3 separate regions of the Homo sapiens genome follow, and all the other regions are linked to region 3. Evidence: promoter capture Hi-C in 16 types of primary human blood cells and fetal thymus (Javierre and others, 2016). All regions are on one chromosome and are shown on one strand. The core of a region is centred on a gene start or on the middle of the fragment in contact, and the rest is flanking DNA. Distances in the headings are between cores, read along the strand shown.

The links. The method cuts DNA at HindIII sites, captures the fragments that hold promoters and counts their contacts. A CHiCAGO score of 5 or more calls a contact.
Region 1: a contact is called between a fragment that was not itself captured here and the fragment with the promoter of USP37 in region 3, in 1 of 17 cell types (neutrophils). The highest score is 5.9, in neutrophils.
Region 2: a fragment that was not itself captured here is called in contact with the fragment with the promoter of USP37 in region 3 in 1 of 17 cell types (total B cells); the score reaches 5.1 in total B cells.

The regions. Positions count from the first base shown.
Region 1 is chr2:216,399,349-216,403,489 of GRCh38, forward strand. The region is part of intron 1 of SMARCAL1-AS1 (SMARCAL1 antisense RNA 1); the gene reads right to left. LOC107985984 (a long non-coding RNA gene) reads left to right here. Exons shown (of 3, transcript XR_001739880.2): 3 at 60-400. Among named protein-coding and RNA genes, the nearest start is that of SMARCAL1, 11 kb to the right of the region's middle. The HindIII fragment of the contact is 2,067 bases long and covers 731-2,797 here.
Region 2 is chr2:216,493,358-216,497,645 of GRCh38, forward strand. The region is part of intron 1 of RPL37A-DT (RPL37A divergent transcript); the gene reads right to left. Among named protein-coding and RNA genes, the nearest start is that of RPL37A-DT, 3.2 kb to the right of the region's middle. RefSeq lists a silencer at 2,732-2,801. The HindIII fragment of the contact is 4,737 bases long and covers 1-4,288 here.
Region 3 is chr2:218,565,843-218,570,149 of GRCh38, forward strand. USP37 (ubiquitin specific peptidase 37) reads right to left here and starts at 2,509. Exons shown (of 26, transcript NM_020935.3): 1 at 2,336-2,509. CNOT9 (CCR4-NOT transcription complex subunit 9) reads left to right here and starts at 2,997. Exons shown (of 8, transcript NM_005444.3): 1 at 2,997-3,136. The coding sequence starts at 3,113. RefSeq lists enhancers at 2,352-2,979, 2,980-3,607, 3,402-3,591 and silencers at 2,472-2,541, 2,632-2,691. The HindIII fragment of the contact is 2,574 bases long and covers 1,261-3,834 here.

The DNA of each region.
Region 1 (4,141 bases), core at 514-3,013, 2.2 Mb before region 3:
CCATCACTGTCTCCACTACTGCTGACGCCACCATCCATAACAAAGCTTCCAATTTGCAGGCTTCAGATTCAGCTTCTGTTTCCTGAGTGCCTCCACTATACCAGCCATTGGGCCAGGCATCCAGAAGCCCTAAGGTAGACCTCATCATCCCTGTTCTACAGGAGAGGAAAACCAAGACTTGGCTACTACAGTATACAAAGGGTGTGGAAAAGTCCTCCTAGAACCCTTACCCTGCTTCCAGGAGGAGCTGGACAGTTCTTTCCAAGTCCAGGCAGAAAGAAGTCTCCTCTTTTTCCATTCTCTTTGTTACTTTATATGTCTGTGCAGGCTTGGTTGAGGAAGAAGGGGGGCCAGAAGGAAGTCTGGCCAGATGGCAGGGTAATAAATGACTCTGACTTAATAATTTGTTGCTCTCCTCTTAATTAAAAGGCTTTTCCCTAAATGATTTGCTGATCACACAAACAGCACACACTAGTTGGGCGAGGACTGGGGGCCCAGGGAAATCTAGACTGAGAGGAGAAGGCATTGGAATAAAGAGGTGGCAGATGGCAGAAGAAGCCCACCCTCCATGTCCCAGGGTGGGCCCAGCTTCAGGAGCTCCCTCCTCCTCAGGTCTGAAACAATTCAATCCAATGATAGAGCTTTGGGGGACTGGTTCTTCTTTCAGGCCTCAGCTTTTCTGGAAGCTGACTTTGCCAGGGGGCTTTTTAATTTCTGGGATGAAGATATAAGCTTTATTTTATCTAACACGTGGCTTTGCATTCAGTTTCCTCAAAGCCCCATGTGGCCTTGGGGGGTGATCAGGTAGCCTTTGGACCATTTTGCATATAAACTGTCACTTATACACTTGATCAACTGGGGTGGTGGTCATAGAGGGGGACAGGGCACCCATTGTTCCAAGCAGCGTCCTGTCAATATCTGCAGTTGCAAGCAAATGACACTAGATAGTGTCAATGGATAAGCTCTCTATTGCATCTTTACAACTGCAATTTATAAGTTCCTGGGATTAAAATCTGCTTTCCAGCAATTATCACACAGAGGTATATTTTCAAAGCCTCACATGTAATTAGAACATGTTATTGATAAAGTGCTAGCTAAAGATTTAGACTTTGAGTCTGTTCATGAGGGATCAGTTTTGTTAATATTGATAATGTTTTCCCCCTTTAATGCAGTTAGGAGTTAGATTGAGATGCCAAATTCAATCAAAATGCACATCTTATCCCCCGCCAAGGGACTTCTGGCTCTCTTTTACTTGTTCAGACTTGTAGAAAGGACCCCAGAGATCGTGTCATATAGGAAAACATCCTGCCAATCTATAACTCTATGTTAAAGAATAAACTCTTTTACACATTATTTTGGTTAACTAGATTTTTCTCAGCATTTGTGCTTCCATCAGATTGGATCATCCTTGCCATAACCACCATCTTCCTATTATTGCTGGATTCCAAATTTCTACTTAGCCAGTTCAGACACCACTTCATCCGCTTAACCTTCCTGATTCTGTATTCCCTGTGTCTCCATCATCAGAGCTCCTCACTAAACCCCCAAGGCCATTTATCTGTGATTGATTGATTGATTTCTTTTTAGAGACGGAGTCTCACTATGTTTCCCAGGCTAGAGCACAGTGTCTATTCACAGGCATAATCATAGCCCACTAAGGCCTTGAATTCCTGGGCTCAAGCAACCCTCTTGACTCAGCCTCCTAAGCAGCTGGGACTACAGGCACACACCACTGCACTGATCTTATCCACAATTCTTTTTTTATTATATTTTCCACACAGGTATTCTCTCTTCTCCTAGTCTTTAAGTTCCTTGAGACAAACTTTCTTTTTAGTGTTTGTATTTCATCTGTTGGCAACAGTATCTTGCACACAAATCATAAAGACCAAGTTGAAGAGGCTTCTTACTTTGTTTCATCAGTCTGCTAATATGTTATCAATATCACACTAGTTTTATTATTGTAGCTTTGTAGTATATTTTAAACATTAATAGAATAATAACTTACATTTATTGATTACTTAATGTATTCCAGGCAATGAGCTAAGTGCTTTACATGATCTCAGGTAATCCTAACAGGAAGTCTATGGGATAGGTACAATTATTTCCATATTACAGATGGAAAAAACAAAATTTAAAGAGATGAATTTACTCCAAGACAAATGCAAAAAGTGCAGAACAGTGTATATAGCACACTGCCATCTGTATGAAAGGGAAGATAAATAAATGTTTTTACTTAAATGTGCATAGAATATATCCAGAAAAATATGCAAGAAATTGATTATGTAATTGAAATATAATAATTATATCCATGATTATTATAAGTCAATTAAAAATAAACAATTTTTTAAAAAAAGAAATGGATGACATTGGCTGCCTGCTGGGAAGGGAATGGGATGCGGGAGTTAAGAATGGAAGAAGAGCAGAATCAAGTTTTGGGTGTGCTGAAGCTCATACAATTTGGGGGGAGCACTTTTACCAAAAAAATACAAAATTAGATACAGAGCCTTAGAAGGGATATATGCCAATGAGGATCTCTGATGCCATAGGTTACTTTTTAAATCTGCCCTCAGCAGAAAGGAGACATTCCACTATATATACTTTTGTATATATTAAATATATGGAGCTTTAATCATGTAAATGCATTGTCTATTCAAAAAGATACAGTTTTTAAAAAATTTATATTTTTTGTTTTGCCAGGCACAGTGGCTCATGCCTATAATCCCAGCACTTTAGGAGGCTGAGGCCGGCAGATAACTTGAAGTCAGCAGTTCAAGACCAGCTTGGCCAACATGGTGAAAGCTTGTCTCTACTAAAAACACAAAAAATAGCTGGGCATGGTGGCACATGCCTTAAGCCCAGCTACTCAGGAAGCTGAGGCAGGAGAATCGCTTGAACCCGGGGGGCAGAGGTTGCAGTGAGCCAAGATCATGCCATTGCACTCCAGCCTGGGTGACACAGTAAGACTCTGTCTCAAAAATAATAATAATAATATTTTTAAAAGCCAGTTCTCCAACTGACTGCATAAAGCAGGACTTTTACATTTTTCAAAAAGTAAATAACTAAGTTTTCATTTTTTCCAGAAGCAGAGGTGTCTGTGCCTATAGCAAGCTGGAGGGGGTGCGGAGGAGGAATTCCAGAGTTGCCTGTTTTACGGAGGCAGGGTAGAGGGACGTGGGGATTTACCTTCGTAATTCAGAGTAGAGATTTGTGTCAAATGTAAAAGGCATATACTGTCGTAACATGGAAAAATGAAAAAAATTAAAAATAAAAGGCATATACTGCACATGTATACATGTAGGGATAAGAAAAAGAGACCCTGCTTTTTCAGAAACGTACAAGAGAAAATTAAGGTAAAAACTCAAATAATATTGCACTGATTGTTAAAAGGGAGCTAATTTCCTGGAAACCAGTGCTGAGGACCAAGGATGTGAGCAGACGGGATGCTAATGCTCTTTCCCAAATGGCTCTGATGGCCCGTGGTTTTCTATTATTGCATCTAGGAGTAGCAGGTCCCTTACTGTAAAGTATCTAGAAATCAGTCAGGCTCTTAACCACTCAATTAGGGTAATTTATCCTTGCGATGAATGGGACCGTTCCTTCTCCCTGATTTAGTCTGGGCTGTGCCTCCATCGAATGCAGATATAAATAGGTCTGTTTGGGGCAGAAAGCCAGCCTTGTATCCTCCCCACCCTGAGGTCTGAACCCGCAGCTTGTAGCCTGGCTCTGTGCAAGGGGCTGATTGTAAGTCCTCCAAGTCAACAGGAACACAAAATAGCTAGCAGCCCCTCCATTTATCTTTCCCCCATGGACAGAACAAATTTGCAGAGAATTTGGACAGAATTTGCAGATAATTTGGAGCAAACATTAAAAAGAATAATCTGACAATAAGAAATGTGAAATGCTGGAGAAAGGGAAGGAAGGAATTGCCTTTTGCCCAGATCCACAGGAATCCCACACTTTGGATGGTTATTTTGGTGCCATCTTAGTTACAGTAGAGACAGGATGCAGGCCTCAAAGCCTTCCTTTCCCCTACTCAGGAAATTCCTTAAGAACTGATTGGCCTTTTGTTTGTGTGTGTGCTATTTTATTTCAGTCAGGGGTAGACCCCTCTTTCTTTTTCTATTGAAGACCACTCAGCTAG
Region 2 (4,288 bases), core at 692-3,191, 2.1 Mb before region 3:
TATTTTTGTTTTAATTTATAGTTTTCTGGAGGCAGGCATTGCTTGGGTGGAGAGCTTTCCAGATAACATCCCTGAAATGCAGTGCATTTCCCTTCTGAGGGAAGAGGGACTTGTTCCCTTGGCCCCTTGCCATCTTCCACCCTAACCTATGGGGGCAGAGGGTGCATGAGGCCTGTGGTGGAAGAGAAACATCTTGGGCACATCTCACTCCCTTTGTGGGCCTCAAGCGGCATCAGTTACCATGACTGTAGTGGTTTCATTGTGTCCAAGCTAAAGAAATTAAGGAGAAAAGAGATGGGCATATTTTTAAGGGAAAGAAGAAGGCAGATCTTCTGTACTTCCTTGAGTATGGCAGAAGAGGAGAGAGGATTGAAAAGGCAGAAAGAGATGTTGAAATCAGGTAGCAGCAGCAGCAGCAGCAGCATCTCAACAAACATACTGGCCACTATTTTAAAATGTTCACTAGACACTTCATGGAAGTTATTTTATCTTCCTGAGACCCTTTATTGTACAGTATACTCATTTTGCAGCTGCGGAAAGAGACTTAGAGACTTGAATCATGTGATACAGTGGAGCGAACACACGTTTATGTGTCACTTAATGGCTATGTGACCTTGGGCAAGTCATTTGACCCCCCGGGCCTCAGTTTCCAGTTTGGGCTACATTATCTCTAAAGCCTTTTTCAGTTCTGACATAACTGGACTGACTTTACAAAGCAGAGAAACCCAAACACATGAAACGCTTCATATACCCATCACCATTATACCATGCAAGGTAACAATCCCCCATTCAACAGACATTACTGCTGACACGTCAGGCTCTTGTATAGGTCCTGGGATGCAGAGGTGAACAACACAAGCCCTGTCCTCATGGAATTGACTTGTGGTGACCTCCTTGGGTGGTGGTGGTGGTTGTTTTAAAATAGACTTTATTTTGTAGAACAGTTTTATAGTTATATAAAAAAATTGAGGAGAGAGTATTTTTGTATACCCTTACCCAATTTTCTCTATTGTTAACTTTTTTTTTTTTTTTTTTTTTTTTGAGATGAAGTCTTGCTCTGTCGCCCAGGCTGGAGTGCAGTGGCACGATCTCAACTCACTCCACCTCCACCTCCCAGGTTCAAGCAATTCTCCTGCCTCAGCCTCCCGAGTAGCTGGGATTATAGGCATGTGCCACCATGCCTGGCTAATTTTTTGTATTTTTAGTAGAGATAGGGTTTCACTGTGTTAGCCAGGATGGTCTCAATCTCCTGACCTCGAGATCTGCCTGCCTCAGCTTCTCAAAGTGCTGGGATTACAGGCGTGACCCACCGCGCCCGGCAACATCTTAACATTAGTATGGTAAATTGGTTACAATTCATAAAGCAAGATTAATACATTATTATGACCTAAAGTCTGTAGTTTATTCGGATCTTCCTAGTTTTTAACGTATTGTCTTTTTTTTGTTCTAAGATTTCATGTTACATTTAGTCATCATGTCACCTTACGCTCCTCTTGGCTGTGACAGTTACTCAGGCTTTCCTGGTTTGACAGTTTTAAGGAGCCCTGGTCAGGTATATTGAAGGATGTCCCTCTTTTGGAATTTGTCTATTGTTCTCATGATTAGACTGAGGTTATGGGTTTTGGGAGAAAGATCACAGAGGCAAAGTGCCATTTTCATTCCACATCAAGGGGACATAGTAACAAGATTATCACTGTTGATGTTGACCTTCATCACCTTGGCTGAGGTCGTGTTGGCTATAAAGTTACTCTTTTTTCCCCTTTCTATACTGTGCTCTTTGGAAGGAAGTCATTCTGTGCAGCCCACACTTAGGGAGTGGGGAGTTATGCTCACCCTCCTTGAGAGCAGAATATCCACATAAATTATTTGAAATTCTTCTTGGCCGGGTGCAGTGGCTCACACCTGTAATCCCAGCACTTTGGGAGGTCGAGGAGGGTGGATCACGAGGTCAGGAGTTCAAGACCAGCCTGGCCGTTATGGTGAAGCCCCGTCTCTACTAAAAATACAAAAATTAGCTGGGTGTGGTGGTGCATGCCTGTAGTCCCAGCTGCTCAGCAGGCTGAGGCAGGAGACTTGCTTGAACCCAGGAGGCAGAGGTTGCAGTGCGCCCAGATCATACCACTGCACTCCAGCCTGGGCGACAGAGCAAGACTCGGTCTCAAAAAAAGAAAAAATAAATTCTTCTGCAAAAGAGAGTTGCCTCTTGTCTTTCATTTATTTAGTCTATCATTTATTTATATCCACATGGACCCATGGATATTTATTTTACACTTGGGTTAAATCAATACTACCTTATTTATTGCTCAAAATTTTCTAGCTTTGGCCATTCGGAGTTCTTTCAGTTGACTCCTGTGTCTCTCTGACATATCCCCATCAGTGTAGGGTTTTCTGAACATTTCCTTACTTTCTGGCACAAGATACTGCAGGCTCGCCTTGTATATTTCCTGCTGCAGTCCTAGAATGAGTCACTTCTCTAAGGGGCCCTGGTTCCTTTTATTAAAGAATGATATTATAAACCAAGATCTGGGGTCTGGGCATGGTGGCTCATGCCTGAAATGCCAGCACTCTGGAAGACTGAGGCTGGAGGATTGCTTGAACCCAGGAGTTCCAGACCAGCCTGGGCAACATGGCAAGACTGTCTCTACAAAAATAAAAAAATTATTTGGGCACTACTCAGGAGACTGTGGTGAAAGGACTGCTTGAGCCTGGGGAGGTCAAGGCTATAGTGAGCTGTGATCACACCACTGCACACCAGCCTGGGGAACAGAGCAAGACCCTGTCTCAAAACAAAACAAAACAAATAAAAACAAACCCTGAGATCTGGGGCAGTAGGTATACTCGTCGTTACTGGAGATGTTTGGGGTTTTTTTTTTAATGGTAGTTTTTTTAGATTATAAAAGAAACACATGCTCATTATAAAAGATAATTAGAAAATGCAAAAAATGTATGCAAAAATCAATTTGACTATTCCCACTATCCACTACTTTTTGCTTTTTCTCCTCCTTGAATTTACACAGCCAGAGCTGGAATAACAGATTGGGGAGGATAAAGAGACAACTACCTTTATTCCACAAAATTGTGCAAGATGTGCTGACATAAAGCACATGGTGGGTCACTGCCCCAGTGGCACTCAAAGTCTGGAAGCTCTTCCTGGAATCATAGGAGGGAAGAACTGGACAGGACCTTGAAGACCACCTGGTCCAGCTCCTTGTAAATAAAGATGGTGGCTGCTGGGAGGTGGGGAGGTGGTTCTCCATGTGGGGACTGTGGCTTACCTAAAGTCAAACCACAAGGTAGTTACAGATCCTGGCCCAGACTGAGTGCCAGGGACCTGATTTTAATTCAACTATGTTTTCTGATGTGCTTTTTCAGTGCACTAAATATTATGATTTGGCGTAGTACAAGCTAGCAATTAGGAGAACTAACTTTGGGATCAGACAGACCAGATTTGAGTTCTAATTGCTGTGTGACATTGAGCAAGTTTCTTAACTTCCCTGAGATGAGTTTCTTTTTTCTTTCTTTTTTTGTTTTTGTTTTGAGAAAGGATCTCACTCTGTTGTCCAGGTTGGAGTGAAATGGTGTGATCATAGCTCACTGTAACCTCTGAACTCCTGGGCTCAAGCAATCCTCACGTTTCAGCCTTTTGAGCAGCTAGAACCACAGATGTGTGTCACCATACCTGGCCTATTATTTTTTTGTGTGTGTGGAGATGGGGTCTCGCTATATTGTCCAGGCTGCCTAGAACTCCTGGTCTCAAAGAATCTTTTCCAAGAGAGACTCTGTCTCAAAAAAAAAAAAAAAAAAAAAAAAAAAAGAAAAAGAAAAAAGAAAGAAAAGTATATAATAACTTGTCAGAGGTCCCACAGCTGGTAAATAGCAGAGTTCTGTTTTGAACCCATACTGAATCCAGAGCCTCTAAGTTCCTAATCATTACATGAGACTTCCTCTCTTTTTCTTAGTAATGAAGATAATAATCATTCCTATCATAAAGGATAATGGAAAATTAAATGAGAACATCCACATAAAATACTCAGTGCCTACCATGTGTTACCCTCCAACAATTGTAACCATATGAAGTACATAGCTGTTTGCAAGTTGCTTTGATTTGATTTGATTCATATATATTTTTTGAGACAGAGTCTCACTCTGTTGTCCAGGCTGGACTGCAGTGGCGTGATGACAGCTTACTGCAGCCTCAACCTCCCAGGCTCAAATGATCTTCCCACCTCAGCCCAGGTATGCAAGTTGACTTTAATACAATTGTGAGGAAAAGTGAACAGGTGCAAAA
Region 3 (4,307 bases), core at 1,259-3,758:
GTTCAAGACCAGCCTGGCCAACATGGTGAAACCTTGTCTCCATTAGAAATACAAAAATTAGCCGGGCATGGTGGCGGGTGCCTGTAATCCCAGGTACTTGGGAGGCTGAGACAAGAGAATCGCTTGAATTTAGGGGGCGGAGGTTGCAGTGAGCTGAGATCATGCCATTGTACTCCAGCTTAGGCAACAGAGCAAAAACTCCATCTCAAAAAATAATAATAACAATAATTACAAGTTCTGAGAAATGATATAAAGCAAGATACATGGAATGATGAGTCTTAAGATTAAGACTTGGGGTAGAGGATAACATTGAGAAGGCTTCCCTGAGAAGGTATCACTTAAGTTGAAAACTGCAGAAGGAGATGACTGATAGATGGTGGTGCTGGAACAATCCAGGCAAACAGCATCCCCAAAGGCCTTGAATTGTAAAATAACTTGATATGACTAGGGAAATTAAAAGCAATGTGGCTACAGTTTAGTGAAGGAGAGGAGGAAGATGAAGTTAGTGAAGCAGGCAAGAACCAGGTTATGCAGTCTTGTGAACCACAGTAAAGATTCCGAATTTTATCCTAAATGTAACAAGCACTTACCAGGAGGAAATCCACCAAAAGGTTTTAAGCAAAGAAATATGTTACTACTGAATGAGGAAGTCATATATGGTTGGTTTGGGTTTTGGGAGAGTGACTAAGAGCAAGAACAGAAGAAAATAATGTAACCAGATAGAAGAGTATTGAGTTGATCAGCTTATAACAATAACAATTAATGCTTACTGGCCATTTACTCTGTGCCAAGTGCTTATCATGGTTATCTCACTTAATCCTCATAACAATCCAATAGGCTGAAAATTACTATTTCCATTTTACAGATGATAATACAGGAAGCCAAGGCAATCAAGTCCAGGTTTTTTAAGGACTGTGGCTTAAACTAGAAAAGTGACAGTGAAAATGTACAGAAAAAGATGCAAGACACGTATTGGAAGTAGGATAGAACTTGGAGAGAGTAGAAGTCAAGAATGCCTCCCAAGTGTGTAGCCTGTGTCATGTGCCACTTAATAAACTGGGACACTGGAGAAGAAAGAATTTCGATATGGAGAGAAAGATCAAGGCTTTGGATTTGGCTGTGTTGCATCTGAAACTCCTAAGAAAAAAATCAAGTTGAGATGTCAAGCAGACAGCTGGCTATCTAGATGTGGAGCTGAAAACAAAGGGAATAGGCTGGAAATAACAATTTTTAAGTCATCAATATATAGATCAAATTTAAAGCTTAGGGAGGAATATAAGAGTAAAAGAAGAGGACCTAGGACTGAACCCAAATACTCATTTTACTTCATCAAACATCTTTAAGACAAGTGAGTACTTTTATATCACTGGGTTTTTCAGTCCTCCTTCCATTTTACCTTTCAGCAGAATGCAACACTACTGATGACTTTTTTCATGGCTTGCAAGACGCATCCTCCTCTATTGGTTATTAAACAGCAGGAATTCGTCAATGCTCCATCCTAGGTGCCTTTATTTTACAGCACTATACTCTTTTTCGGCAATTTCATCCACATCCATGGCTTCAATTACTATCAATATGGCAGATGACAAACACATACACACACCGCGCACATTTACGTACGCAGCCCAGAACTCTCCTAAGATCTCCAAACCCACTATATCCAACTGCCTACTTGACATTCCCTCTCAGGTATCTCTTCCAGTTAGACACTTGTCAGGAATTGCCACCTCAATAAAGGAATTTATACAGAGCTGAAATTTTGAGAGGAATACCCCAAAACCACTTTAGGACAACTCTTCAGGACACAGGATTTTATCATCAATCATCATTTCCTTTCATGGATCATGACTTAAAATAGTTACATCTAACAACCTGATCTGGCGGCTAGAAATGGGCGCAAGGAAATGCACAACAAAAATACAATTCATGTTTTGCAGTGAGGACTGGTCAAGAGGAAGGTGAAGATGGTCAAGAGAGTGAATGAGTATCATGTCCAAGGCCTGGTGGATGTGCCGTAACGAAAGTCACCTGAAGAGACAGCAGGCCCTGTTAGAAGGTAAGAGGCGAACGACAACAGCCCCAGAGAAAAGGGGCCAGGTTTGAGTTTCGGAGGGAGCGAGTGGCAGTGGAGACCAAGTCAAAGGAGAGGTGGAAGCCGGGGCAGTGCACCCAAAGGTAGTACCTGTGAGGCTGGGGGTGCATCGAGGGGTTGTGGGCGGGCTGAGTAGCAGCAGGGCGAACTCCAGAGGAGTGAACGCCGAGTGGGCGGATCGCACAGAAGGAGGAGGAGGTAGGGAAAACGGCTCAATTGAGAAGCTACCCCGGCCCGCCTTACCTGCGCCGAGGGTCCGGAGCCCCCGGACAGACCCGCGGAAAGCACGGAGCCCGCGAGGAGTGGGAGGAGCCGAGGGTAATGGAAGTAGGGATACCGAACCCAAAGGAGGGAGGCCGCTAGCTACCCCTAGTCAGGGAGAGCGGCTGATGGCGGGAACTGTGACCACACGCAAACACGCACGCACGCACGCACACTCGACGCGACCAGACAGGCGCGTGCGCGTCAGTCGAAAACTCCGCCCCTCACACGCCCTCGCCCCGCCCCGCCAGTACCTAGAGCGGCCTAGCCCGGGCAGCCCCGCCCCTGCCGTGACTGTAGTAGGCACGCGCACTTTCCACCTCACCCGATTTCGACGCCCCCCCACCATTTCCCTCCTACGCAACCCAGTCGGGCATGCGCAATAGTTGTCTTGCCGGGACTGTCCATCTTTTCCCGCCGTTCACTGGCTTTTGGAGGAGGGTCAGAGTTCACGCCGCTCTCTGGAAATAACTGCTCAAAGCCAGAAGTTGCGGGGACTAGTGGTCGCGGACGTCCTTCCGGTCCTAAATCTTAAGGGGCAAAGGACATACTCTGGGACTGTTAACTAGGCCCTGGAGGCGGGAAGAGGATGTGTGGGTGGGGTCAGGGGTGAGAGGTCAGAGGGCCGCGAAGTGGGCGGAGCGAGCCGGAGTCGGATGGCGGCTACGGCGGCTCATTGTTTTCCGCTGCAGGGGTGCTGAAGGGGGGACGCGGGTCGGACGCGTCCGGCTGTGGAAGAGAGCGGCGGCCGCTCACAACATGCACAGCCTGGCGACGGCTGCGGTGAGTGGCTGGGCCCCCAGGCTTGGAACCAGAATCCTTTCTCAGACCCACGTTTCGGCCTTCTCTCCTAATTCCCGGTGTCGGGTCCCTAGTCTGATTTTTTTCTGCCCTCAATCTCCAAGGCCCCGGTTCCCCTCCTCGGCACGCTTTGGTTGTGGTGGAGCCGGCCCCTATTTCCTTGCCGGACGCCTCTCGCGGCCTTCAGCGCGACCCATCGCGTTCTTTGCGGGCGCCGGGGCCTGGTCCCACGCCCGTAGCAGGCCATTCATTGATTTATTGCGCTGACCAACAGTTTCAGGGCGCCAGTTGTGTTCTGGGCGCCGGCGTCGATGAGGGGAATTCCATGGTCAATCTGACGCGGCCCCTGCTCTTAGAACTCACCACGTCGCAGCGGGAAGGAAATGGCTTCTAGTTCAAACCACTTGCTTTATTTATGGAAAACCTGAGGCCCGGAAAAGTGCATAATTTTTGCATCTGACTTAGGTTCTCTGCATTTAAAACTTTTCCTCGACACATCTCGTTTTACCCGCGTGATCTTTTAACAAAAAAGAAAGATAGTGTAATTCAGCTATCCGAAGTAATCCTACTTCTCTTGGCATTTAAATAAAATCTAGACTCCTTGCCATAGCCTGCACGGCCCTGTATGATGTGGTACTTAACCCACGTTTATAATCTCGTTTTATGTCTCTTGCTCCTAAAGCTTCAGCTACTCTGGCCACCTAACCCTCTGCAACGCGCTTATTTTTCTCCAAGATGCACTTTGTGGTCTCTATGCCTGGAGTGAATGTTCTTCTTATCCCTCCTCCTTTACATACACAGCATGAGTGTAATTGGTACCTCTTCCTTGAACTCTCCTTCCTCTCCTTAAACTGTTTATCCAAATCCATCTTTCTTCAGGTCTCTGCCTAAATCGGTCTCAGAGTGGCCTTCCCTGACTATCCTCTTCAAATTAGTTCCGCAGCCTCTAACTTTAGTAGAGTACCCTTTACAGCCCTGATCCCCGTGTAATTATTGTATTCGTTTATTTGTTGTCTGTCTCCTTGAGGGCAGGGACAGGGATCATGTGAGCCCTGTTGACGTGGTTTCCCCGGTGCCAGGACAGTTCCTAGTACAAGATTAAAGACTCAGATACTTTGCTGCATGAAAGAATATTGAAGGGAAGGTGACCACT